7 separate regions of the Homo sapiens genome follow, and all the other regions are linked to region 3. The links are contacts of gene promoters, found by promoter capture Hi-C in blood cells and fetal thymus (Javierre and others, 2016). All regions are on one chromosome and are shown on one strand. Each heading gives the region's core, a stretch centred on a gene start or on the middle of the fragment in contact. The rest is flanking DNA. Distances are from core to core; before and after follow the strand shown. Region 1 has its middle 130 kb from the start of C9orf72. Region 2 overlaps LOC124902135. Region 3 holds the start of IFNK (interferon kappa). Region 4 has its middle 4.3 kb from the start of EQTN. Region 5 overlaps LOC124902135. Region 6 overlaps LOC124902135. Region 7 has its middle 14 kb from the start of EQTN.

What was found. Contacts are between HindIII fragments. The CHiCAGO score rates a contact against its expected background, and 5 or more counts as called.
Region 1: a fragment that was not itself captured here is called in contact with the fragment with the promoter of IFNK in region 3 in 1 of 17 cell types (neutrophils); the score reaches 8.3 in neutrophils.
Region 2: a contact is called between a fragment that was not itself captured here and the fragment with the promoter of IFNK in region 3, in 1 of 17 cell types (neutrophils). The highest score is 6.9, in neutrophils.
Region 4: a fragment that was not itself captured here is called in contact with the fragment with the promoter of IFNK in region 3 in 8 of 17 cell types (monocytes, activated CD4 T cells, total B cells and 5 more); the score reaches 8.8 in monocytes.
Region 5: a fragment that was not itself captured here is called in contact with the fragment with the promoter of IFNK in region 3 in 1 of 17 cell types (neutrophils); the score reaches 6.3 in neutrophils.
Region 6: a contact is called between a fragment that was not itself captured here and the fragment with the promoter of IFNK in region 3, in 2 of 17 cell types (neutrophils and monocytes). The highest score is 14.1, in neutrophils.
Region 7: a contact is called between a fragment that was not itself captured here and the fragment with the promoter of IFNK in region 3, in 5 of 17 cell types (total B cells, naive B cells, M1 macrophages and 2 more). The highest score is 9.0, in total B cells.

The regions. Positions count from the first base shown.
Region 1 is chr9:27,698,583-27,701,659 of GRCh38, reverse strand. No RefSeq gene overlaps it. Among named protein-coding and RNA genes, the nearest start is that of C9orf72, 130 kb to the right of the region's middle. The HindIII fragment of the contact is 2,222 bases long and covers 197-2,418 here.
Region 2 is chr9:27,756,071-27,759,566 of GRCh38, reverse strand. The region is part of intron 2 of LOC124902135; the gene reads right to left. Among named protein-coding and RNA genes, the nearest start is that of C9orf72, 180 kb to the right of the region's middle. The HindIII fragment of the contact is 624 bases long and covers 1,220-1,843 here.
Region 3 is chr9:27,522,854-27,526,334 of GRCh38, reverse strand. IFNK (interferon kappa) reads right to left here and starts at 2,045. Exons shown (of 2, transcript NM_020124.3): 1 at 1,374-2,045; 2 at 1-328. The coding sequence starts at 1,998. The coding sequence ends at 1,375. The region is part of intron 1 of MOB3B (MOB kinase activator 3B); the gene reads left to right. The HindIII fragment of the contact is 1,828 bases long and covers 742-2,569 here.
Region 4 is chr9:27,299,721-27,303,272 of GRCh38, reverse strand. No RefSeq gene overlaps it. Among named protein-coding and RNA genes, the nearest start is that of EQTN, 4.3 kb to the right of the region's middle. The HindIII fragment of the contact is 3,881 bases long and covers 1-3,509 here.
Region 5 is chr9:27,737,452-27,740,909 of GRCh38, reverse strand. The region is part of intron 2 of LOC124902135; the gene reads right to left. Among named protein-coding and RNA genes, the nearest start is that of C9orf72, 170 kb to the right of the region's middle. The HindIII fragment of the contact is 2,775 bases long and covers 499-3,273 here.
Region 6 is chr9:27,717,893-27,721,161 of GRCh38, reverse strand. LOC124902135 reads right to left here. Exons shown (of 3, transcript XM_047424284.1): 2 at 138-244. Among named protein-coding and RNA genes, the nearest start is that of C9orf72, 150 kb to the right of the region's middle. The HindIII fragment of the contact is 1,949 bases long and covers 693-2,641 here.
Region 7 is chr9:27,281,427-27,284,529 of GRCh38, reverse strand. It overlaps the pseudogene REXO6P. Among named protein-coding and RNA genes, the nearest start is that of EQTN, 14 kb to the left of the region's middle. The HindIII fragment of the contact is 7,253 bases long and covers 1-3,103 here.

The DNA of each region.
Region 1 (3,077 bases), core at 58-2,557, 180 kb before region 3:
GGACAATGTCCTCTCTTTTTAAGCTCATGAATTTCACTTTCCTAACCTGACAAAACGGTGTGTGTTAGATGACACATGGATGTGGAATTATTACACAGGAACCATCGGAGAGACAAAACTGTCTGCTCTTATTAGATTTGATGACTAGGCAACACACACACTACTGATCTAGAAAAGCTATGAGAAAAAGAAAGCTTTAAATTGGGTTAGGGGACTTGAAGCATAATCTGAGATGCCAGTTGCTTCAAAAATGAAATTGTGCCAATGTCCCCTCCAAGAGAAGAAGGAGGCTAGGTGCCTAAAACGCAGAGACACCCCGTGGCATCATATCTAAAGGCCATGCAGTAAACAGAAATCCAGTGTGAAGAGAAAAGTTCAGAACAGAGTGAAGAGGACAAAAAGAGTGAAGCCTGCACTTCCCTGAGAGGAAGTGCCCCCACCCATGACAAAGCCATCAAGCCACTTCAGACACATTCCAGATAGAGGAACACAGTATGCTGCTGCTGTGAAGACAAGAGGAAAGAAATTGGGAATCTTTTGTATCCCATTTAACAAACATTTCCTGGGAACTTATTAAGTGTCGAGCACTATATTCAGTCTTGTTGGAACCAATATGACTAAGACTTCCATATAGAAATGTGTCTCCAAGGGATCTAAAGTAAGGGTCAAAGTTTTGCCCAAAGAAGGAACTTGAAATCTGTCTTGGCAAGAAGTAAGTTATGATTCTAGAGAGTTGTGCCATGTAATATAAAAGGGCCAATTGATTTGAAAGCAAAAAGGGAATGTTTTATACATACGTCATTTCTATCATAAGAACTCAGTCTGGCCTTTTCAGATTGCTGACTTTAAGCAGACCATGTCCCTAATGATCACTAATGCTGATTGATACTCTGGTTGTGAGTTTGTGTCTCTGCAACTCACGTCAGCCAGTTCACATCACTGATTAAGCTCTCTCTGGGTCTCAACCACGTGGGGCCCCCATGAGCAGTCAGCTTTGTCTGCCTTCCCCCTCAACTTTGCTCCACTGAGACATGGATCCAGGGTTGATCTGTGTGACCTTAAGCGGACTAGAACTGTTTCAGAACACCCTCAGAAAACACTTTTGTATTGCAAGTGCAGATGAAATGGGAACAGAGCAGAGCAGCATGGTTAGGGGCTAAAGCATTCCTCTGCAATCTATGACAAAATCCTTAAGGCTAAATAAACAATCCTTTCCTGCCTCCCAGGTGCAATCTTGAAGGGGATCTGATCCCCTGCAAGGCTTTTCTGTTAAACGTCAACTTAATAAATAAAGTTTACATTTTCATAGTTAAAATACGATCACCGTCCAAACGGTTTTTTAAGAAACAATTGCCTTTCCATCCTAAAGCAATTGTCATCATGAAGTTTATGTACTTCGCTCCACTATGTTACTACATGAAGTTGCATGTGTTTTAACATAGTTGTTATTGTTTTTCATGTATATTTTTATAATCTGGCTTTATTTCACTTGATATTAGATCAGTAGTAATTGATCCATAATCTTAATTTGTAGCTTCTTTTCAAATGCTGCATAACAGTCCCTCATTTTTCTCCATTTAAAGAACCCCAGTTGTCACTAGAAAGAGGATTTATGAGAATATCTTTCTGAATTGATTTGTTTTCTACTATATGTGTCTAGTGTTCTACTGTTAAGTGTTATTTTAGTGTTCTTTGGCAGTATCAGCTCTCTTCCCCCAACTCACCCACATCCCTTCTTCTTTTTCTTTCTTTTAACAATTCACATTATTCTATGGAGAAAGTGACCACCATTGTGAGCATCTGGGACAGCTCAGCTGAAACTTAGACTCAAAACTGTGGAGACTTGTGACTGAAACAGAAAAACTGTTCAACCTTTCATGACGTTGGGAAAATAAACATAGATAACTCTAATATGAAATGTTTGCTTTAGTCCTGGTGTCACAGGGAGCTGATAGATGACATTTTCACTCAAGTGCAGCACTCTACAGTTGGTAGCATACTTTATGGGGACCCAGAAATAATCCTCTCCATGAGGCTTATCATTATTACTTTAAGAGAGAATTAATCTTTCTCCCCTGAGTGTTTTAACTAAACTTTTGTTTTAGCTGTCAAACTTTATTCTACTTGGTTTTACCATTAATTGTTTTGTTTATAGATGTTTCCCCATAGATAATAATAACCTTGAGTGGAGTCATTCATTCATCATAAAAATATGGGCCATCACATAAATGGAGGACATGGAGCCTGGTACAGGGTTGGCAACCAATAAACTTGAAAATGCATTGCCAATAAGCAAATGTTCACTGGTTGCTAACTGTGTACCAGGCACTTGGTTAAGTACTAGAATTAATTCACATTTTTTTCCTCAGAAAAATATAGAATTGATTCCTGTCAAATGCAAACTAACAGAGTCAAGCTTTAAAACCTGGCAGATTTGGTCGGACCTATCTACCTACTACAATGAGAAAACACCTATTTTAATCCTTTCTCTAACTCTGTGTCCATGCCTAATAGAGCCAATAAATTAAGCCCTGTTGGTGAGGTAAAATATCTTGAGCAAAATATAGACTGGGAAAGCACTATTAAACAGCAAGCCATAAAATAACTGTAAACCTGCTTATGAACTACCTTGAAAGTAATTTCAGGCGAGTGGAGAAGGAACCGATTACCAGCAGCAATAGCTGCCAGGATCTTTTACACCAGTTCCTTATAAATGGGAGTCACCTTAGCAATCTTCACCAGCTTCCTACTGAGAAGAAAAGTAACCTGTACATAAAGATTTATAATGTCTACTTAAAGGTGACCTGGGATGGAGTTTGCCACTTTTAACATCCCACTTGTCTAGATCCATATAATCACTATAACACTGAATTCTACCAGCTTATCTTAAATTGCCTGGCAGCCTATATCCAGTAAACGGTCTTTCAATTCTCAAGGCTCGCTCTAGTCAAAATCACGTTGGCCCCTGCCCTTGACTAACAAGAAGGCTTAGAGGGTTTCTAAGACATAGCCCCCACCCCCAGGCCCTATGGATTTAGTTAGTCATTTCAGAGTTTAGATAAAGGTATCTCGATTAT
Region 2 (3,496 bases), core at 282-2,781, 230 kb before region 3:
AAATAAACAATATCTAGAGCACCATAGGCCTATAGAACTTTCTGCAAAATGGATACATTTTATAGCCGTTCTGTTCAATATGGTAGCCACTAACCACTTGAAGTGGGTCTAGGGTGGTCGAAGAACTGAAATTTTAATTTTATGTAATTAATTTAAATTTAAACAGCTATATCTAGTTAGTGGCTACTGTACTGGACAGTGCAAAACCAGGATGTCAGGACAAGAGCTAGGAATTCAGTGACATGCCATGGTCCTGCCAACAATGTGTGGAAAAGCAGTCAAACACAATAGGAAAAGGTAACTAGGTGTTGGTCACAAAGGAAGACAAAGATCCAGGTTTTGAAGGGAGGAAGGGAGATAATAATAAGCATAATAATAACTACTGAGTAGCTATGGTAGGTAATATTATTGCCATTTTTCATTTGAGGAGAGTGTGGCTCAGAACTTGTCCAAGGTCATACATTTAATAAGTAGGAAAGCCAGAATCTGAAACTGACTCTAAAGTTTATCTTCTTTCTAGCGTGCTCAAAATGGGATTCCTAAGAGCAAAATCATCAAATCAAGCCAAATAGTGATCATCAAATATCTTCACATATCCTTAGTCCTTAAGCCTTCTGATCTCTCTTAAGATTCACCTTATGCATCACTATGTAGGAGGTAAATAGGAGAAACTACAGTCATTCAGCAGCTTCCTTCAACCACCATCTGTTGAATACCTACCAAGTTCAGGGTGCTGGATGCTGCAGACGCTGAAATGAATAGGAGATTAAGACATGATTGTAAGTGAAATGATGGTAAATTGTGGCTGGATTGTATCCTTTCAGCTAACTGTCCCCACTGCAGAGCCCTGAGGCACAGTCACCACTCAAAGACCCTGCAGGGAGGAACAAACACAGCACAGGCTGTGGTTCTAAATTCCCATGCCTTCTCTTAGCCTGCAGAATTGGCTGCTCCTTTGCACAGAAGTGACCACGGATGAGGAAAGGGTTCACAGAAGCATCTCTAGGGTACACAATTCACATTATATTCTGTATGAATGGTGCCCCCGACACTAAAACTGGTGGCCTTCTATGAACCTCTCTTCATACACGATTTTCCTAGGACCTACTCTGGTTCCTGTTCGACTTTTTTAAAGGATAGAGTAGGGAGAACTCCTGGGCATATCTCAGCAAATTAGCAGCACAAAAGATGTGATTAAAATAGAAATTTCCTTTAAGCTTGTAGCAACCCAAAAAGAGAAAGTGGAAATCAAAGTTCCATGCTTGCTTTCTCCCAAGGAAAACTTCAGCTTCTAGCATTATGGCTCTGAGCTCCGCCTACAGGTGATTCTGGGCCACCTATGCTATCAGCAGTCTGGATCCTCAAGGAGCTCACAGCCAAGTGAAGGAGACACAGCAATAAATTATTGCTGTTCAACGATAGCTTCTATAGGAGAGGGATGTACAGATGCTAGTGGTAGCTCCAAGAAGGTACTAGTCAGAGTTTCGCAGATGTCTTCTACAAGAGCTCTGTTTTCAGTAAGATGATAGGAAATTAGACCTGAGAGCTATTGTCTACATGCATGACCTATGGTGTTTGGTGAGATGCTCCCAGCAGTCAACCTCAATGCAGGGAGCCAGTACTTCCTAAGAGGTACCCAGCTTGACTGATGAGTTTTTTACTGTGAACCAACCTAAACCAACTATTAATCAAGGAAAGAGAAAACATGAGATGCAGGTTTCAGGTTCCACGCCATATCTAGGTCCATCCTGAAGACGTATACTCTCCTTTCTTTCAGAAGATTAAGGATACGCCTCCCCCACCACCCCCAAAAAAGGGATAGCCAAAAAAGGTGCCGTAAGCTTTTTTAAAGCCATTAATTAATCATGAACTTGAGCAATTCTGAATCTGCCCTGAGAGTGTCTGAGTTCAGTGGTTAATTTTCCAGATCATCTGCATGTAAGATCCACAAGGAAAGACTTGATTGAGTATAGGCTCCCCAGGGCAGAGGCAGTTCCATTCGTCACTGATCCCTCAGTGCCTAGCATGCCTGGTACCCAGTGGGTGTTTATTATATATTAGTCCTCCTTCTCCATGTAGTAGTTCAGTTATGTTCATCACACATTTATGGAGTACCTGTGTGCCTAGCATTATTCTAAGGGTTGAGAATAAATAGAAATATAAGACATTCTGGTCCTTTGCTCTCCGATGGCTTACAAACAGAGAACACTCAGTAAATGTTCTTTGAATTGAATTGCTGACTGAGTGGTTCAACAGGATAGGCTTGGAACTACAAACTGACTCTCGACAGAATTCTCCAATCAACTGAGTAGGAAAAAAAAACTGGTTTGAGATATATCCAAATGATATTGATCAGGAATATAGCTTGAAATTCTTAACTATGCTTGTGTTCACTGTCATAATACTGATGCTGATTTATCCCTTCCCATACCTATCCCCAACACCGGCTCCTTTCTGAGCAGTAAAGTTCAGGAGGAAGCCTGTTATCCCTGATCAGAGAAACACACAGGTCTACACGAGATTTGGACTGATGTCCTTCATTGGCATCATCCTTTTACCAGCTGGCCCCACATATTGCAGATGTGCCAAAATGGATTCGCTATCATGTTGACACAGCTTTATTGTATCTTCTCCAAAACAACTTAGAATTTTCCTTCCAAGGTGTAGCATTGAGATGGACAACTTAACTTCTGTATTTCCTGACTTTGTGAGTGTATGTCTAGATTAGTATTATGGAGATTACTCAGGGTTTGTTTTTTCACTCTTTGGCACTTTGGTCTATAAATCATGCTATTTATTTGTTTGTCCCTAACTGTCCAAAGGAGACTATCCTTGTCACTGGAAAATAAGGCTGAGTAGCCATACAGTGGCAGAACACAGGCAATCACAAATGATCAGGGAAACAAAAACTAGCAACAAGATGAATGTACTGGAAGCAAGCATAACAAAGAGAGGTGACGGTGAGCACGGGCCATTGCTCCAGCTGCACAGCCAGTGGCTCTGTGCATAAATGCTCAGCAGGTTTCAGTGCAGGAGCTGGAAATAAGTTTATACCCGAGGCAAAATAGACGGTCAAGTCAACTTGAGGCGCATTAGAGGAACAGGGGAAAGGAGGGTGGAAGTGATTGACAAGGGCTACATGGCACTTCTTACGTAATATCCCAACCTGTCTAGCCTCCTCAAGGAACACAGATCTGGCCATGAGCCAGTGTGAAAGGTCTTTCTGGCTTGTCTGTCTCCTACACCTCCCATGTCCTAGACTAATGAAGGGACCATGTGTAAAATAGATGTGTGAAGACTCAGAGCTTAGTAACACACAGGACACACAATGGTGGTCATCCTTGTTCTCTTGTCATTAGTTCACTTGCCAGAGAGGTGAAGGGAGTTCCCCATACTGCCCTCAAATTGCAGCTTCCAAAATTTAGCTGGTTTTGAAGCTGGAGCAACTTTGATGTTTTCTTAACACAGGCAGGCACTTCATTAAAGTACTACGGAG
Region 3 (3,481 bases), core at 796-3,295:
CACTAACTCATTTTATTGTCTGATCCTTCTGCTGATAGCCTGCATATACCATGATCCACAATTTGTTCTTGTTCTTTTAAACATCTCTTCTAACTTCTTGGCTGAAATTTGCCTCACTTTTATCATAAGACTTTCTTTGGCTATAACATTTGGGCCCTGCGCTTGGAATAATCTTGAATCTGAACAGTTTGGCAGCATGCTGTTAGTGGCATGAGCAGGAAATGGCTTCCAAGGGCAGAACCAGGTACATTTCAGATATATTTCACCCTTTTTTGGTGCATTTGCGTAGCCACAATCTCTGTTAATTCTTGCTTGAAGGTAGATGATTCTGAAATGGGGTAGATAGAGGTGCGAGAGGAAGAGAAAATCCATGTCAGCTAGGTGGTGAATTAATATAGATGAAGGGCCGTGCTAGAAAAGTAAATAATCTAGGTAGTCTGGCTGCAAAGTAACTTTTAAAAAGATAAAAGATATTAAAGTATTATGTATTATTGGAATAGCTAGTTAAATTAACTCACAGAATGTAGTCTTCTAACTAGGAAAATCTAATGTAAAATTGTTCCATATTATGACTCTGGACATTTTATTTCAGGCACATGAAAAACAGTAAAAGACAGATTCTGTACCATACTTTTCCACAGCATTTTCCATGCCTTTAGATGTAGGAATCAAACAATATACATCAGGAATGAAGAGTGTGCTACATTAGAATCACAGACTCTCAAAGGTTAAATGAAAGCTTAATGGTCGTCTAATTCAACCATCCATCCAATTTCACTATGGATCTTCACTCTTAAAGTAATGAAATACTATTCCACAAGCATCAATTCAAACAAACCAAGCTGAGAAGGAAATGGGCCAGAAATGTCAACCTTTTTCCCCCCGAGCAGGAGGGGGAAAATGCAAGAGTATTGACTCTAGGGAGCATGTATAAGCTCTTTTAATGTGCTGAATTTTCATAGGATAAGCAACCTTGGCAGCAAAACAGTTAAGTCATTGAAATGTTACCATTTTGCAACATTCTCTGCTCCCTATCCTCTAGCCATTGTCTTGGTGAAGTCCACAGGTGGTATATATAGCAAAGCTCTTTCAAAATGGCCACAGAAAAGAGCAAGAGAGAATAGAAGAAGACGGAGAGGGAATCTTATTCCTTTAAAAATGTCTTAAAGACTTTCTAAGGAGACTCTTGGTCACCCTGAGGATGGTTGGCATTACCTCTCCTTAGAGAGGTGAGTGTCCCTGATGTTCCGAGGCTACCAGTCCAACTGAGGACAGGCTTACAGGACAGCACAACAATCCTTAAAAAGAAGTTGGAGGAGGAGAAGGAGAAAGAGATTTCGGAGGGAAAAGGAATTTTAATTCCAAAAATATACCTTATTTCCTCCTGAATAGAGCTGTAAATTTGTAAAAGTAATACAAACATCTTCTGATTTCCACTCGGACAATCTCCCAGGCACAGTCACTGTATTTCTTTTCTTTCAGGAAATTGTCTATCCTGTGGAAATATCTCCTCAGTTCCAGGCTGCTCAGCTGGGGGACCCTGGCTTCTGAGGGTTTCATCTCATTCTCTTTCATTTCTTTCATGTCTTCATTTTCATTCTTGTCTTCCTCCAAGCATTGGTTCAGGTACTCTGCTTGCTGATCAAGTCCTATTTGGATTTGTTTGAGGTGTCTCTCTTTCCAATATTTGAAGGTGTGTTGGCTGAAGATGTTGAAGGCCTGTAGGGACATTTCATAGAAGGCCTTCTTGATGTCCCTCTTCATAGGTTGGGTGTATTGCAGAAACTCTTGGGGCAACTCAAAAGCTATGTTTTCTCGTAGACATTCTACAGGAAATGAATTGCTCATACTACTCAGATGTCTCAGATTTTGCCAGGTGACTCTTCTCAGGTGAACGTTCAGTAAGTTACAGTCCAGGGATAGGGTGCCAGCAATGAATATACCCATAAGGATCTCAAGCCACAAACACTTTTGAATCATATCAGGTTTGGTGCTCATTTTTTTTGCAAGCTAAAAAATCCAGAAGATGTGTATATGACAATGATGTTTTGAGTTTTCCTTCATGTGCCTTTATATACCTGAATATCTTCAGCAGGAGGAGTTTTCTCATTCGTCATTTCACAGTTAACCAAGGTTGCGGCCCCTTTCCTTTGCCTCTGAGGCTTTTTTTTTTTTTTTTTTTTTACTTCGGGTGACTATGCCGACTTTGGAAGTGATAACTTTTTTTTTTCCCTGAAAAATGAGCAAAGAATTACCATCGTGTTACCTTAAATGCCTGGATGATCCATCCCAGCACTAAGGAATCATCATAACAAGACTGATGCAGGGTATTTCAGAAAGCCAAAAGCTGTGAGTCCATGCACTCACTCACTCACTCACTCACCCAAATCTATTACATAAGAGGGAGTGATCCTTCATGAAAATATATTTTTTGTACCTGGTGCTATAGCCAAACATCCTGTCTCATTGAGTTAATCATAGACATTGACCAAATGACTGTGATTATTTGATTGCTAGGTCACCAGAGCACAGTATAGTTTAGGTTTTTCCAATTTTGTTAAATTAAGCTTCTATATTTGGATATTTTCTCTTTTTGATTTTTCTGGATCTCCAAAAAGATGAAGAATAGAGCTGGCACTTACTAAGTAGGAGACTAAGTTGGCTTGGTTTTCTGTTGCATTAGAAAATGTTGATAATCTCTAAATATCCTTTTCTTCAGTTAAATCCATCCTGGACTTAGCCTTCCATATGCCTCTGATACCTTTCTTAAAAGTCCTGGAGGGGGTTTTATATTTGAGAATATCTTTCTGCCTCATTAACTTCTCTCTTGTAGTATCATTTTCTTTTCTTTTCTTTTCTTTTTTTTTTTTGGTGCAGTTTAGGCAGTATTTTTAAACTTTTGCTTGATTGCTTGATTATTATATCTTCTTGCCTGGTGGTTCTGGATTCTGTAAAGGCTTTTGTTTGCTCCTGTGTTTGTTGTGCACTGAGGAGGTATGTGAGTAGGAAGTCACCCATTTAGCTAAGTGAATTCCTAGCTGGACCAATGTTACTGTGGTAATGATGGCTATCTATTGTTTATGGTTTTTACTTTGTTTGACCAAATAACCTTCCTCTGATTATGGTTAAAGCAAATGGATTCTTTTCTCCAGGAAAATAAAATGGATTGTCATTTTAAAAAGGTAGCTTATTATATCTTCTCAAGAAAAAAAAGATATACATTAATTTGCAATTAAGTCATTGTAAAATGGTAAATAGCCACAGTTCCACAAACATGGCAGACTTTGATTGAAAAGTTGGCTTAAAAAGTTCTTGTCTAAATCAGTTGACTGCACCAAAGGCTAATTGTGGGTAAGTGGGATTTCTTAAAATCCTGGCTTTTAGGAAAGGTTTCTTACGGAAAAAAATATATATATATATATTATTCTATTTGTTCCATCTACATAAATTCTTATTTCATGGGCAGATTTCTTGGGCTGAC
Region 4 (3,552 bases), core at 320-2,819, 220 kb after region 3:
AGGCCGTGAGACTTCTCCACACCCACTTCTCTCTCTTCTTGCCCAACCTGCTTAGAATACGGAGAAACTGGAACCATTAAAGTCTCTTCTTTGGCTCAGGATCCTTCCTTTTCTCTCCAATGGGTGGTCTCACGAGGAAGTCAGGCAGCAATAGAGATTGTTTGTGTGCAAGCCACAGTCTGTGTTTCTGTCTAAATATCTCTAGAGGAACAATTAGCTGCTCCGTACCTAGAACTACACAATGCGTTTGTTTTGTTTTGTTTTGTTTTGTTTTGTTTTGTTTTGTTTTGAGACGGAGTCTCGCTCTGTCTCCCAGGCTGGAGTGCAGTGGTGCGATCTCGGCTCACTGCAAGCTCCGCCTCCCGAGTTCACGCCATTCTCCTGCCTCAGCCTCCCAAGTAGTTGGGACTACAGGCGCCCGCCACCATGCCTGGCTAATTTTTTTTTTCTTTGTATTTTTAGTAGAGACAGGATTTCACTGTGTTAGCCAGGATGGTCTCTATCTCCTGACCTGCGATCCGCCCGCTTCGGCCTCTCTAAGTGCTGGGATTACAGGCTTGAGCCACCGCGCCCGGCCGTAGTGAGTTCTTAATTAGAATAATACTCATCGAATCTGAGTTGGATATTAAAAAAGTAAAGAGAGATGGGGGCTGCTGGATGATGAGTGAGTGAAGAGGTCAGGAAATGTGAGACATCTAAGGGATTGAAGAACAAGGATGTCAGGTGTATCCAGAGTAGAGAGCTGCCAGGATGGAAGGATGTGGCAGAAGGTGATTTGTCTGAATGTAAGTTTCCAAAGTGTTCCAGCTATTTATTGCTGCATTGCAAAGTATGCTGAAACTTGGCGACTTAAAGCAATACCCACTTTAACATATCTCATGCTTTTGTGGGTCATGAATTCAGGCAGGGCTCAGCAGGGCAATTCTTCTGAATGATGTAGCTAATCATTTATTTTCTTTTATGCACTATGTAAACTTACTACTCAGATTTAAGGAAAATAATATTCAAATTAATTTTTTAAGCACAGTTTTTGGGCTTATATTAATGGACTGTGACAACTAATTTATACCTTGTGGAATTTATCTCCATTTAATGAATTCTCTCGAAGACTGGGATGACTCAATTAACATTCTTAATATTCTTTAAAAATATGTTTTAGGCCATTATATAAAATTGTGTTATTTATGGATGCGGTGGCTCATGCCTGTGATCCTAGTGCTTTGGGAGGCCGAGGCAGGCAGATCACCTGAGGTCAGGAATTTGAGACCAGCCTGGCCAAAATGGTGAAACCCCGTCTCTACTAAAAATACAAAAATTAGCTGGGCATGGTGGTGGGCGCCTATAATCCTAGCTACTCGGGAGGCTGAGGCACAAGAATTGCTTGAACCCTGGAGGCAGAGGTTGCAGTGAGCCGAGATTGCACCACTGTACACCTGCCTGGGCGACAGAGTGAGACTTTGTGTAAAAAAAAAAAAAAAAAAAAAATTGTCTTGTTTCTTAGTATGTGTATGTCTTCAACTTCATTCTCTATACTACTTATATGACCTACCCAATAGGATACTGGTGTACTCTGCCTCTTGAAAAAATATGGGTATATGAAAACCTCACCACATCTAATTCTTTTAGACCTGAGGAAAAATTATGTATATAAATCTGTAAAGTAAACAAGTTCAGCCCAATAAATGGGTCTTAAATAGTACTGGCTGTGAAACTTAATTTTCCCATTTTTCAGATGAGTGAAAGTTCAGGGTCAGAGAAGAGATGATTTGCCCATGATCATACAGCTAAGAAGTGATGGAGCTAATATCCAAATATATGGCCTCCTACTCTAGGCTTAGTGCTGTTGAGAGAAAAGACACAGAAATGGGAAAGGGCTTGTAATCCAGATGTGGTCAATAAACATGAAATCATTCAGGAAATAAAGTCACAGAGTACAAAGTATATTTAATGACATTCTTGGTATTAGCAAGAGATGCCTTTCAGGGTCTTCTTTAAAGACTTAAAATATGACATTATGTAGAGAAAATAATATACACTTGATTATTTTAAAGAAAAATTTATACTAGATTGTGTTATAGAACATCTACATTTATGGAAGGGCTACATTACAGCCCAAAATTATAACCTCCAGAGAGGACACGTTCAATTTTAGTTTGCATAATCTCTTCTATTTGTCTATTCTATACATTTGCTAGGGCTGCTGTAACCAGAAACGAGTACCACAAACTGAGTAGCTTAAACAACAAATTTATAGTGTCACAGTTCTCGAGGTTACAAGTCCTAGATTAATATATTGGCAGGATTGGCTCCTCCTGAGGGGCATGAGGGAGAATCTGTTCCATGCCTTTTTCCTAGCTTCTGGTGGTTTGCTGGCAATCTTTGATGTTCCATGGCTTCTGCTGTACCTCCCTGATCTCTCCCTTCATCTCCACATAGTATTTTTTCTGTGTGTCTCTGTGTCCAATTCTCCTCCTTTTCATAAAAACACCAGTCATGTTGTGTTGGGGTTTCATCCTACTCCAGTATGACCTCTTCTTAACTAATTATATCTGCAACAACTCTATCTCCAAACGTGGTCACATTTTGAGGTTCTGGGGATTAACACTTCAACATGTGAAATTTGGGGGCATACAGTTCAACCCATAACACCTCTGAAAATATGTTCTAAAAAGAATACTGATCATAGGACAAAGAAAGGTTAACATCATTTTTTTTTTTTTCTTTTTTGGAGCAATAGGTCTCGCTATGTTACCCAGGCTAGTCTCAAACTCCTGGGCTCAAGTGATCCCCCTACCTTGACCTCCCAAAGTGCTGAGATTATAGGCACAAACCACCACACCTGGCCTAAAGTCAATTTTTAAACAAACTTAGTTTCATTAAATCTAATGCTTTTTTTATAAAGCCTACAATATCTGTACTCTACCAATTCAATTACCTAGGAAGAGCATTAGTCACATTAAAAACTAACAATCTTTTGAATATAGGAGGACTCAGTGGAGAAGCTATATGATAAAGAAAATTCCATTCATGTCATTAGAAAATGCTAAGTTGACTTTTTGGCACTTAAGTGCTTCCTGAACTAAATAAAGTGTTTTATTCCCTCATTCATCAAGCACCTGTTATGGGCCACACAGTGTGCCAGCTTTGGGGCACACAGTAGTAAACATGTTTCTCCAGCTAGCACTGACTTCCCCTTTATTGCCAGGGACAGGGGAAATTCCATTGATGCCATCTTCCTCCTGGAACAACTTCTTCCGAGTTTCACCAGGGCTGAGCTATGTCATTCAAAGCTCTAAGGTGGTTTGCAGCAACATGGAGCATGCTTGCTTCAAGTCTCTCTCCTTTTCTATGTGTCACCCTGTTAGAGAGATAACAAAGTAAAGGGCTCCCAAGGCCTGCCAGCTCTTTACTCATATCTCTTTTTTTCGCTTCTCAGCTTTCACTTGAGAATAAGCTAAGGAAGAAAAACAGCTCTACACAGGACCACTTCCCTTTGGCTGACTAAAGCTTTGATGCTAAGCTTTGCTTGCCTGACCATCTTTTCCCTGAGGA
Region 5 (3,458 bases), core at 637-3,136, 210 kb before region 3:
GTGAAAACATCCAAAAAAGAAGTCTATTGACTGTACTCAATCTACACTGCAGTTAAAGGAACAACCACATGCAGTGATGAGAAAGAACCAGTGCAAGAACTCTAGTAACTGAAATGGCCAGAGTGTCATATGTCCATCAAATTACTGCACCAGTTCTCCAACAAGAATATTTCAGAATATCATCCATGAACATTTCCCCATCCTTGCTAGAGAAGCCAATAGTCAAATTCAGGAAATACAGAGAACTCCTGCAAGATTCTACACAAGAAGATCATTCCCCAAGACATATCATCATCAGATTTTCCAAAGTCAAAATGAAAGGAGTGTAAAAGGCAGCTGGAGAGAAAGGGGGAGTCACCCACAAAGGAATCTCCATCAGGCTAACAGTGAACCTCTCAGCTGAAATCCTACAGGACAGAAGAGATTGGGAGCCCATATTCAACATTCTCAAAGAAAAAAATCTTCAACCAAGAATTTCATATCCAACCAAACCAAGCTTCCTAAGTGAAGAGATAAGATCCTTTTCAGATAAGCAAATGTTGAGGGACTTCATTACCACCAGACCTGTCTTACAAGAGATCTTGAAAGGAGCACTAAACATACAAAGGAAAGACTGCTACCAGCTAATATGAAAACACACTTAAACACACAGACTAGTGTCACTGCAAAGCAACCACATGAACAAGCCAATGTAGTAACCAGCTAACAGCACAATGACAGGATCAAATCCACACGTATCAAGGTTTGTATTGATATCAAGGTTAGTATTGATATGCATGGATTTGATCCTGTCATTGTGCTATTAGCTGGTTACTAACAGCTAACTGGTAAATGAGCTAAATGCCTTGACAAATGGGCTAAATGTCCCCACTTAAAAGGCACAGAGTGGCAAGTTGGATAAAAAAGCAAGACCCAATGGTATGCTGTCTTCAAGAGGCCCATCTCATATGTAATGACACTCAGGATCAAAATAAAGGGATGGAGAAAAATCTACCAAGCAAATGGAAAACAGAAAAAAGCAAAGGTTGCAATCCTAATTTCAGAAAAAAAAAAAAAAAAACAGATTTAAAACTAACAAGAATCAAAGACAAGGAAGGGCATTCCATAATGGTAAAGGGTTTAATTCAACAAGACCTAACTATCCTAAATATACATTCACCCAACACAGGAGCACCCAGATTCATAAAGCCAGTTCTTAGAGACCTACCAAGAGACATAGAGACATAGACTCCCATGCAATAATAGTGGGAGACTTCAACACTTCAGTGGCAGTATTAGACAGATCATCAAGGCAGAAAACTAACAGATATTGAGGACCTAAACTCAGCACTGGACCAAATGGTCCAATGATATTCTGACAGACCTTTACAGAACTCTCCACCCAAAACAAAACAACAGAATATACATTCTCATTGCCACATGGCACATACTCTAAAATTGACCACATAATTGGATATAAAACAATCCTCAACAAATGTAAAAGAACCAAAATCATATCAAATACACTCTTGGACTACAATAAACATAGTAGTCAACACAATGAAAATCATTCAAAATCATACAATTACATGGAAATTAAACAACATGCTTCTAAATGACTTTTGAGTAAAGAATGAAATTGAGGCAGAAATCAAGAAGTTCTTAGAAAATAATGGAAGCAAAGATAAAACATGCCAGAATCTCTGGGACACAGCTAAGACAGTGTTCAGAGGGAAATTCATAGCACTAAATGCCCACATCAAAAAGTTAGAAAGGGCCGGGCGCGGTGGCTCACACCTGTAATCCCAGCACTTTGGGAGGCCGAGGCGGTCGGATCACGAGGTCAGGAGATCGAGACCATCCCGGCTAAAACGGTGAAACCCCGTCTCTACTAAAAATACAAAAAATTAGCCGGGCATAGTGGCGGGTGCCTGTAGTCCCAGCTACTTGGGAGGCTGAGGCAGGAGAATGGCGTGAACCCGGGAGGCGGAGCTTGCAGTGAGCCGAGATCCCGCCACTGCACTCCAGCCTGGGCGACAGAGCAAGACTCCGTCTCAAAAAAAAAAAAAAAAAAAGTTAGAAAGACCTCAGATTAACAACCTAACTTCACAACTGGAAGAATTAGAAATGCAAAACAAACCAACCCTAAAGCTAGCAGAAGAAAAGAAATAACAAAAATCAGAGCTGAATTTAAGGAAATTGAGACACAAAAAACAATTCAAAAGATCAGTAAGTCCAGGAATTGTTTTTTAGAAAAAATTAATAAAATAGATAGTCCACAAGCTAGACAAATTAAGAAGAGAGAAGATTCAAATAAAAACAAATAGAAATGAAAAAGGGAATGTTACTACTGGCCCCACAGAAATAAAAACAACCATTAGAAATTACTATGAACACCTCTACACAAACAAACTAGAAAACTTAGAAGTGATGGATAAATTTTTGGACACATACACCTTCCAAAGACTGAGCCAGAAAAAAATTGATTCCCTGAACAGACCAATAATGACTCTGAAATTGAATGAGTAATAAATAGCCTATCAACTAAAAAAAGGCCAGGACCTGATGGATTCACAGCCAAACTCTACCAGATATACAAAGAAAGTCTGGTACCATTCCTACAGAAACTATTCCAAAAATAAATAAATAAATAAATAAATAAATGAGGAGGAGGGACTTCTCCCCAATTCATTCTATGAGGCCATCATGATATTAACACCAAAACCTGGCAGAGACAACACACAAGAAAACGTTAGACCAATATCCTTGAGAAACATTGATGCAAAAATCCTCAACTAAAGACTTGCAAACCAAATCCAGCAACACATCAAAAAGCTAATCCACCATGATCAAGTAGCCTTCATCCCCAGGATGCAAGGTTGTCTCAACATACGAAAATCAGTAAATGTGATTCATCACATAAACAGAACTAAAGACAAAAACCACAGGATTTTCTCAATAGATACAGAAAAGGCTTTCCTTTATGTTAAAAACTCTCAGTAAACTAGGTATTGAATGAACATACCTCAAAATAATAAGAGTCATCTATGACAAACCCAAAGCCAACATTATACTGAGTGGGCAAAACCTGGAAGCATTCCCTTGAAAACCAGCAAGACAAGGATACCCTCTCTCACCACTTCTATTCAACATAATATTGGAAGTCCTAACAAGAGCAATCAGGCAAGAGAATGAAATAAAGAATCTCCAAGTAGGAAGACAGGAAGTCAAACTATCTCTGTTTGCAGACATGATTCAATATCTGAAAAGCCCGATAGTCTTAGCTCAAAAGCTTCTTCAGCTGATAAACAACTACAGTAAAGTTGCAGGATACAAAATCAATGTACAAAAGTTACTAGCATTCCTATACACCAACAACAACCAACCAGAGAGCCAAATCAGAAAGGCAATCCATTCACAATTGCCACACACACAAAAATAAAATACCTAGGAATATAGCTAACCAGAGAGTTGAAAGA
Region 6 (3,269 bases), core at 418-2,917, 200 kb before region 3:
CCTGGTGTCAGAAGCTATAGAGGCTGCTATTTTCCAGAACTGTCATTGTATTCTGTAACAAAGCATCCTTTCCCTTAGCTGAGCTGAACACTAGAGTGCTTTTAAACTAAGTTTTAAAGAATCTAGGCATCTTTTACCTTTAGCTGTCGGGTCTGACTTAAGCAATTTTCCTTCTTCCTCTTGATTGAAGCTCATTTTAAGCTTAAAGAACAGTAACTGTAATCCTAGTTCTCCTTCAAGGATTCTGAAAATGATTAAAACAGCAACACTTAATTCTTTGAGTATTAAGCCATGATATCTTAAGAAATCTGTGGTAGGGAGAATTCTAAAATGGCCTTGAAGATTTCTGCCTACTGGTATATATAACTTCTGTGTGTAATTCTCATCTTGAGTGTGGGCAGAATCTGTGAATTTGATAGAATATCATTATCATGATTAGGTTATATTCTTTGGCAAAGGTGAAGAGATTTTGCAGATGTAAATAAGTTCTCAAATCATTTGACCATAATGAATTAATCAAAATGGAGATCATCTTAGGAAGGCCTGACTTAATCAGGTAAAAGCCTTTAAAAAGAGAGACAGATCCCTTCCTGAAGGGAGAGATTCTCCCACTGGCTTTGAAGAAGTGGCCATGTTGTGAAAGGACCACATGGTAAGTAACTGTGAATGGCCTCTACGTCCTAAGAAAAGCTTCCACCTGACAACAAGAAGGAAAAAGACCTAGTTCTCTAATCACAAGGAACTCAGCTAACGAGCACATGAACTTGAAAGAGGGCCCTGAGTTTCAGAAAGGAACAGACATCATCCTATATCATTTCTTACATTTTATTTCATTTTTAATTAACAAATAATTGTATATGTTTATGGGGTACAACGTGATGTTTTGAATAGTTAATAAAAATGTATTATATATTTCAAATACCTAAAAAGGAGGGTTTTAGATGTTCTCACCAAAAAGAAATGGTAAATATTTGAAGTGATAGGTATGATAATGTGCCTGATTTGATCATTCCATTCAACATCTTGATTGCAGCCTTGGGAGACCCTGAGCAGAGGATCAAGCTAATCTGTGCAAAAATTCTTGACCCACAAAAACCAAGATAATAAATGTGTGATGTTTTAAGCCACTAAGTTTGTGGAAAGTTGTTACGCAAAAATAGAAAGCTAACCTTCACTTTGAGTCTAAAAGTTGCTATCAACAAGAGCAAAGATAAAGGAAGTTCAACTCAGACATTCAGTTTGGTCTGTAAGTTGTTATGAACAAGAGCAAAGATAAAGGAAGTTCAACTTAGACTTTCAGTTCAAGTCTATAAGTTGCTATGAACAAGAGCAAAGGTAAAGGAAGATGTGGCTGAGGAGAGGCTGCCCATATGATGGAGAACATTCTCACTAGTTATCAAGAGACCTCAATTCTGGTCCTAGCTCGCCACTAATTCATTGAATAATATTGGACAAGTCACTTTATTTCCCTGAGTCCTACCCAGTTTGCTCACACATAAAATGAAGGGATTGACCTAGATACACTCCGAGACCCCTCCAGTCTCCGATATTCTCCAAGCCTGTGAAACTATGTCCCCTGTAGCATAAGCCAATCACCTTCCTTCCACACAGCACCAAATGGTAGCTCACCATTAGGTGGCATGAACCCCTAGAAAACAAAATGTCACAAAGGATGACATTGGAAGAGTAGAGAGAATCCTGCTTTCTTTTCTCCCAAGTGTCTCCACAGTGGCATGAAAAGCAATACAGAGATACTTCTGAATCCACATACCCTAGCAAGACTCAGGTCATAAAACTACACTAGACATCAAGACCTCAAAAGGGTCCTTGGTCTCATACAAGACTTTTCTATGTCTCTGTGTACCTCTGTATGAATCAGGAGCAACTGATTACAATCTTCTCCTTATTATCACTGTTATGTCTCAAGTCATATAATAACACCTACCATTAATTGAGCAGCTGATATTAATGTTCTATCTCAGATACTTTATACACATTATGTCTCAGAGAAGATCAATAACTTATTGAAGATTACACAGTTAGGAATTCAGGATGAGAATTTTTACCCAAGTCTACCTCAGGCTGAAGCATGTGTTTTTTCCTCTGCATGACACTTGCACTGGTGTCGCAGTACTTACCCACGTGCCCTATCCACTCAACAAACATCTCATGACCAACCATTCTTATGTCACATTATAGAGTGACCAGCTATCCTAGCTTGCCCAGCACTGAGAGGTTTACCACGATGCCAGACTTGCAGTGCTAAAACTAGGAAAATCCCAGGCAAAATGGGATGAATTGGTTATCCTAACCAACCTGTGAAGAGGTCTGGGTGTGCAAACCTGGAGTGCAGGAGACATATGGAGCTATAAAGTGAGATCCTAAATGCAAAACTTTCTCTGAAAGTCACTTTATTTCACTTCTTGAGCACAATCCCATGCCCTCTATCCTAAGTGTGCCTAAACCCAAATGTGGTCTGTCCATGCAAACTCTTAAAATAACCATGCCTGATACTCTATATTACACTCCCACCTGTCAGCTGGGAATCTGCCAGAACCTGGGTAGCAGGTTTTCCCAGTCATCTGCAGGTCTGCATCATCCAATCTAATACCCTGCCTGAGATAGAGGAGGAATTGAAGCTTAACGATGCATCCTTTAACTAACTTTGCTCTTTGATCCACCTAATACCTAAATCTCTTGAGAACAAATTAAGACTTTATGAAGTCTTGAGTTGTTGTTGCTTTGTTATTGGCCTCTAATTCCAAACCCAGTAAATCTCTTATCAGCCTAATGGCAATATCTCAACTCTGGTACATGGTTCTTGATCTTCTCTTGTAACTTTACAAGTCTACATGCTGCTGACAATACAAATAGGGAAGGCTGTTGACTGAGGGAACACTTAATCTAAAATTTATATTCTGAAGTATGTGAAACCTGATCCTGGTCTCTGTTTCTCACTCAGAGTTGACCACAGGGTTCAAGTGGGCTGGACAATGGGGCCTCCAGCTGTGGTAAACTACAAAACCAGCATCTCCCACTGATCCAGGCCCATGTTGGGTTCCAGGAGCAGCATCTCCAAGCATCTAAATCTCTTGGACACTTTTTATCAGGAGGAAATCTAAACGTTTACAGTGCCAAAACCAAGATACATTATTTGGCCGGAATACTGAGCATCCAGATGGATGCAAACCAAAAACTCTGCCTACCAGATGACCCCCTCTGGGAGTCAAGAGTCTGTTTTGGAGTGGTCTTATGCTGAGATTTAGCCT
Region 7 (3,103 bases), core at 38-2,537, 240 kb after region 3:
TACACAAGAAGATAATTTAAGGTGTGAGAAACTCATCAAGTAAAAACATTCCTGGAGAGTGACTTTGAAAGATATTTTCTCTAGGCTGGTTCACTTTAAAACAAGGACATTTAGATATTTACCTTCCCCAGGGGCATTTTGAGAACATCAGGGAACTCACCACTGCCTATGCGCCCCCTCACCACCGCTGAAGCAAAAAGAACACACCTGTTCATGTTTTATTGACAAAACAGTTGTGCCATCAAGAGATGAAACTAAATTAATGGTAGGAACTCTTAGCATTCTTGAACTGTTTAAAAGTCGTCAGGGGTTGCTCTCACATGACAAAAGGTAAGAAAGAAAAGATACTTTTCCATTTCTTTTCTTTTCTTTTTTTTTTTTTTTTTTTTGAGAGGGAGTCTCGTTCTGTCGCCAGGCTGGAGTGCAGTGGCGCGATCTCGGCTCACTGCAACCTCTGCCTCCCGGGCTCAAGCGATTCTCCTGCCTCAGCCTCCTGAGTAGCTGGGATTACAGGCACACGTTACCACGCCCGGCTACTTTTCGTATTTTTAGTAGAGATGGGGTTTCACCATGTTGGCCAGGATGGTCTTGATCTCTTGACCTCATGATCCGCCTGCCTTGGCCTCCTGAAGTGCTGGGATTACAGGTGTGAGCCACCGCACCCGGCCATATTTTTCCATTTCTAAAGTATCCATAATCGTTTGAGACAACACAGTGTTCCAGAAGAAGAGAGAGGAAGAGGGGAATTCCAGAAGGTAATTTCCTAGCTGGGGACTCATGGACCTTGAGTCTTTTAGAGCTGAAGTGCCCTTCTTTCTCTCTTCCCCCAGGCATCCAGGATTATTATGTTTCACTGAAAGAAAAGCAATGCTTTTCAAAGACTTATTCAAGTTTATTAGTGACTTTTGTGGCTATCCATACCAAAAGTATTTCAATTTACAAAGACAGAAAATAGGGATAAAGTTTCCTTTTTAGAAATTAGTTTCGGCTGGGCGCGGTGGCTCATGCCTGTAATCCCAGCACTTTGGGAGGCCCAGGTGAGCAGATCACGAGGTCAGGAGTTTGAGACCAGCCTGGCCAACATGGTGAAACCCTGTCTCTACTAAAAAAATAAAAAAAATTAGCCACGTGTAGTGGCACACGCCTGTAATCCTAGCTACTCAGGCTGAGGCAGGAGAATTGCTTGAACTCGGGAGGCAGAGGTTGCAGAGAGCTGAGATCACACCACTGTACTACAGCCTGGGCGAGAGAGCAAAACTCCATCTCAGAAAGAAAAAAAAAGAAGAAATTAGTTTCAAGTGGAGGGATTTAGCGACATGCATCATGTCTTTTCTGGATATGTATGGATATGGGAGAAGAACTTAGGGCATGTTTCATTGCCCTCTTCAATTCTTACCATACCAATAGCTTTCATTTACTGAGTACCTACTTTATAATAGGCACTTTAGAACATTGTATCACATTAAATTCTACTATCTTATGAAAGGTGAGTTTATTTTACAGATCAGAAAACAGAAGTTCAGGTAAATCAGATAAATTGCCTAAGAGCACCTGCTGTGATGTGCTTCCAATCTGAGGTTCTCTCCATGATCCATGAAGGTGAATAGTCAGACTTGCAGCAAAAGTCTTTAGGATCAACACAGGCCCAGCACCCAAGACACATAAGGTTCCTTAACTCAGGTGTTCTTTCAGCTCTTGGGAAACTGTTTTCCTTTCCTTTAGCTTGGGTATCTATAATTCTTCTTCCTCACGAGAATAAACACACATTTTACTCTCACCTGCCACTTCCCCTACTATCCATTGTTAGAGTCCTTCACTCCCAAATTTCGCCGCAGACTCCCGCCCAGTCTCACTCACCATTGGTTGGGAAAGCTACGAAGCTCCGCCTTTGAATAGTGATGGGCTATAAAAGACGGCACCTTTGAGGGAAAAGGCAGTAGGTCAGGCGCTCACCTTTGCCTGCTCTCTGGCAACAGTGCTCACAGTTTCTGAGCCAGTGGAGGTGGCCTGGAGCAGCAGCCCATGCTACTCTCTGCCGGTTATTTTGCCATTTCTCTGTGCCCTTTTGACAGCTCCAGGGATCGGTGCCAGCATTTGTACTGCCAGTTCAGGCACCTGCAGATCTGGTGGAAAAGTGAGGGAGGTGATTGCAGTTGCTTGGAGATGCTCCAGGTGCAAAGGAGTTGTGTTGAGTCCACAGGTGAGAAAGGGACATGAGAATATCAGGTGGGCTTGGAGCGAGGTTGATAACCAACTATTCCCACGTTTTCTCTCCACCCCTCCTTAGGAGGTACCAAGAATTTTCCTGATTGGAAAGGGGTGGAAGAGCCACTTTTCAATCATGTAAAAAGTAGTAGTAGTACTAGTAGTAGTAGTACTTGTCTTTGGTACTAAAGTAAAGCATTGTACAAAGTTGAGTACAGCATTACTCTGGCTACAATATCTAAAATGGCCAAAAGAGATATGTTAGCTATATATTTTTAAATGGGCTACTCATCCTTAGACCGTTGGCATAGTTTGCCTTGTAAAGTGCAGTGAAGGTATTTTGAGGGGGATGGAAGGGGAGTGGGCACAGGAAGAATGTCAGGAGGTACTGGTATGTGTGGTCTCTTTTCCTCCCTCTCCTGCTCTAAAAGTGAGAAGAGGGTCTCACAGCCAGTGCTGGTTGGGAGAGGTCTTCTTGTTTCTCACTGCTGACCCTCTATGCCATCCATAACTAAACCTTCATTTTCTGAACAGGTTTTCTGGACCTCTGACCTGCTTGCCCTGGAAGGCATCATAAAACCGGTTCCTTTTTAGCCTATCAGTCTCTCCCCCATTCTGAAACTCCCTCTTATTTCCTGTTGCTGATGCTCCCTAATCATCCTCTTCCCCAAAACCTCAAAGGGGACTTTCAATTCTGTTCCCCCATCCCCGTAGGTGTATTTTGCTGCTTTGTTTTCCTCTACCTTAACTACTCACAGTGATGCAGGTGAACCCCAAAACCGGGGCTCAGCTCGGGAGGGTTCTTGGCTTTGCTCAGGAAAGAATTCAAGAGCCAGCCAACAGTGAAAGCAAGCAAGTTTTTAAAGAGTAACATTGTACAGCGAAAGTGGTGGCTCCA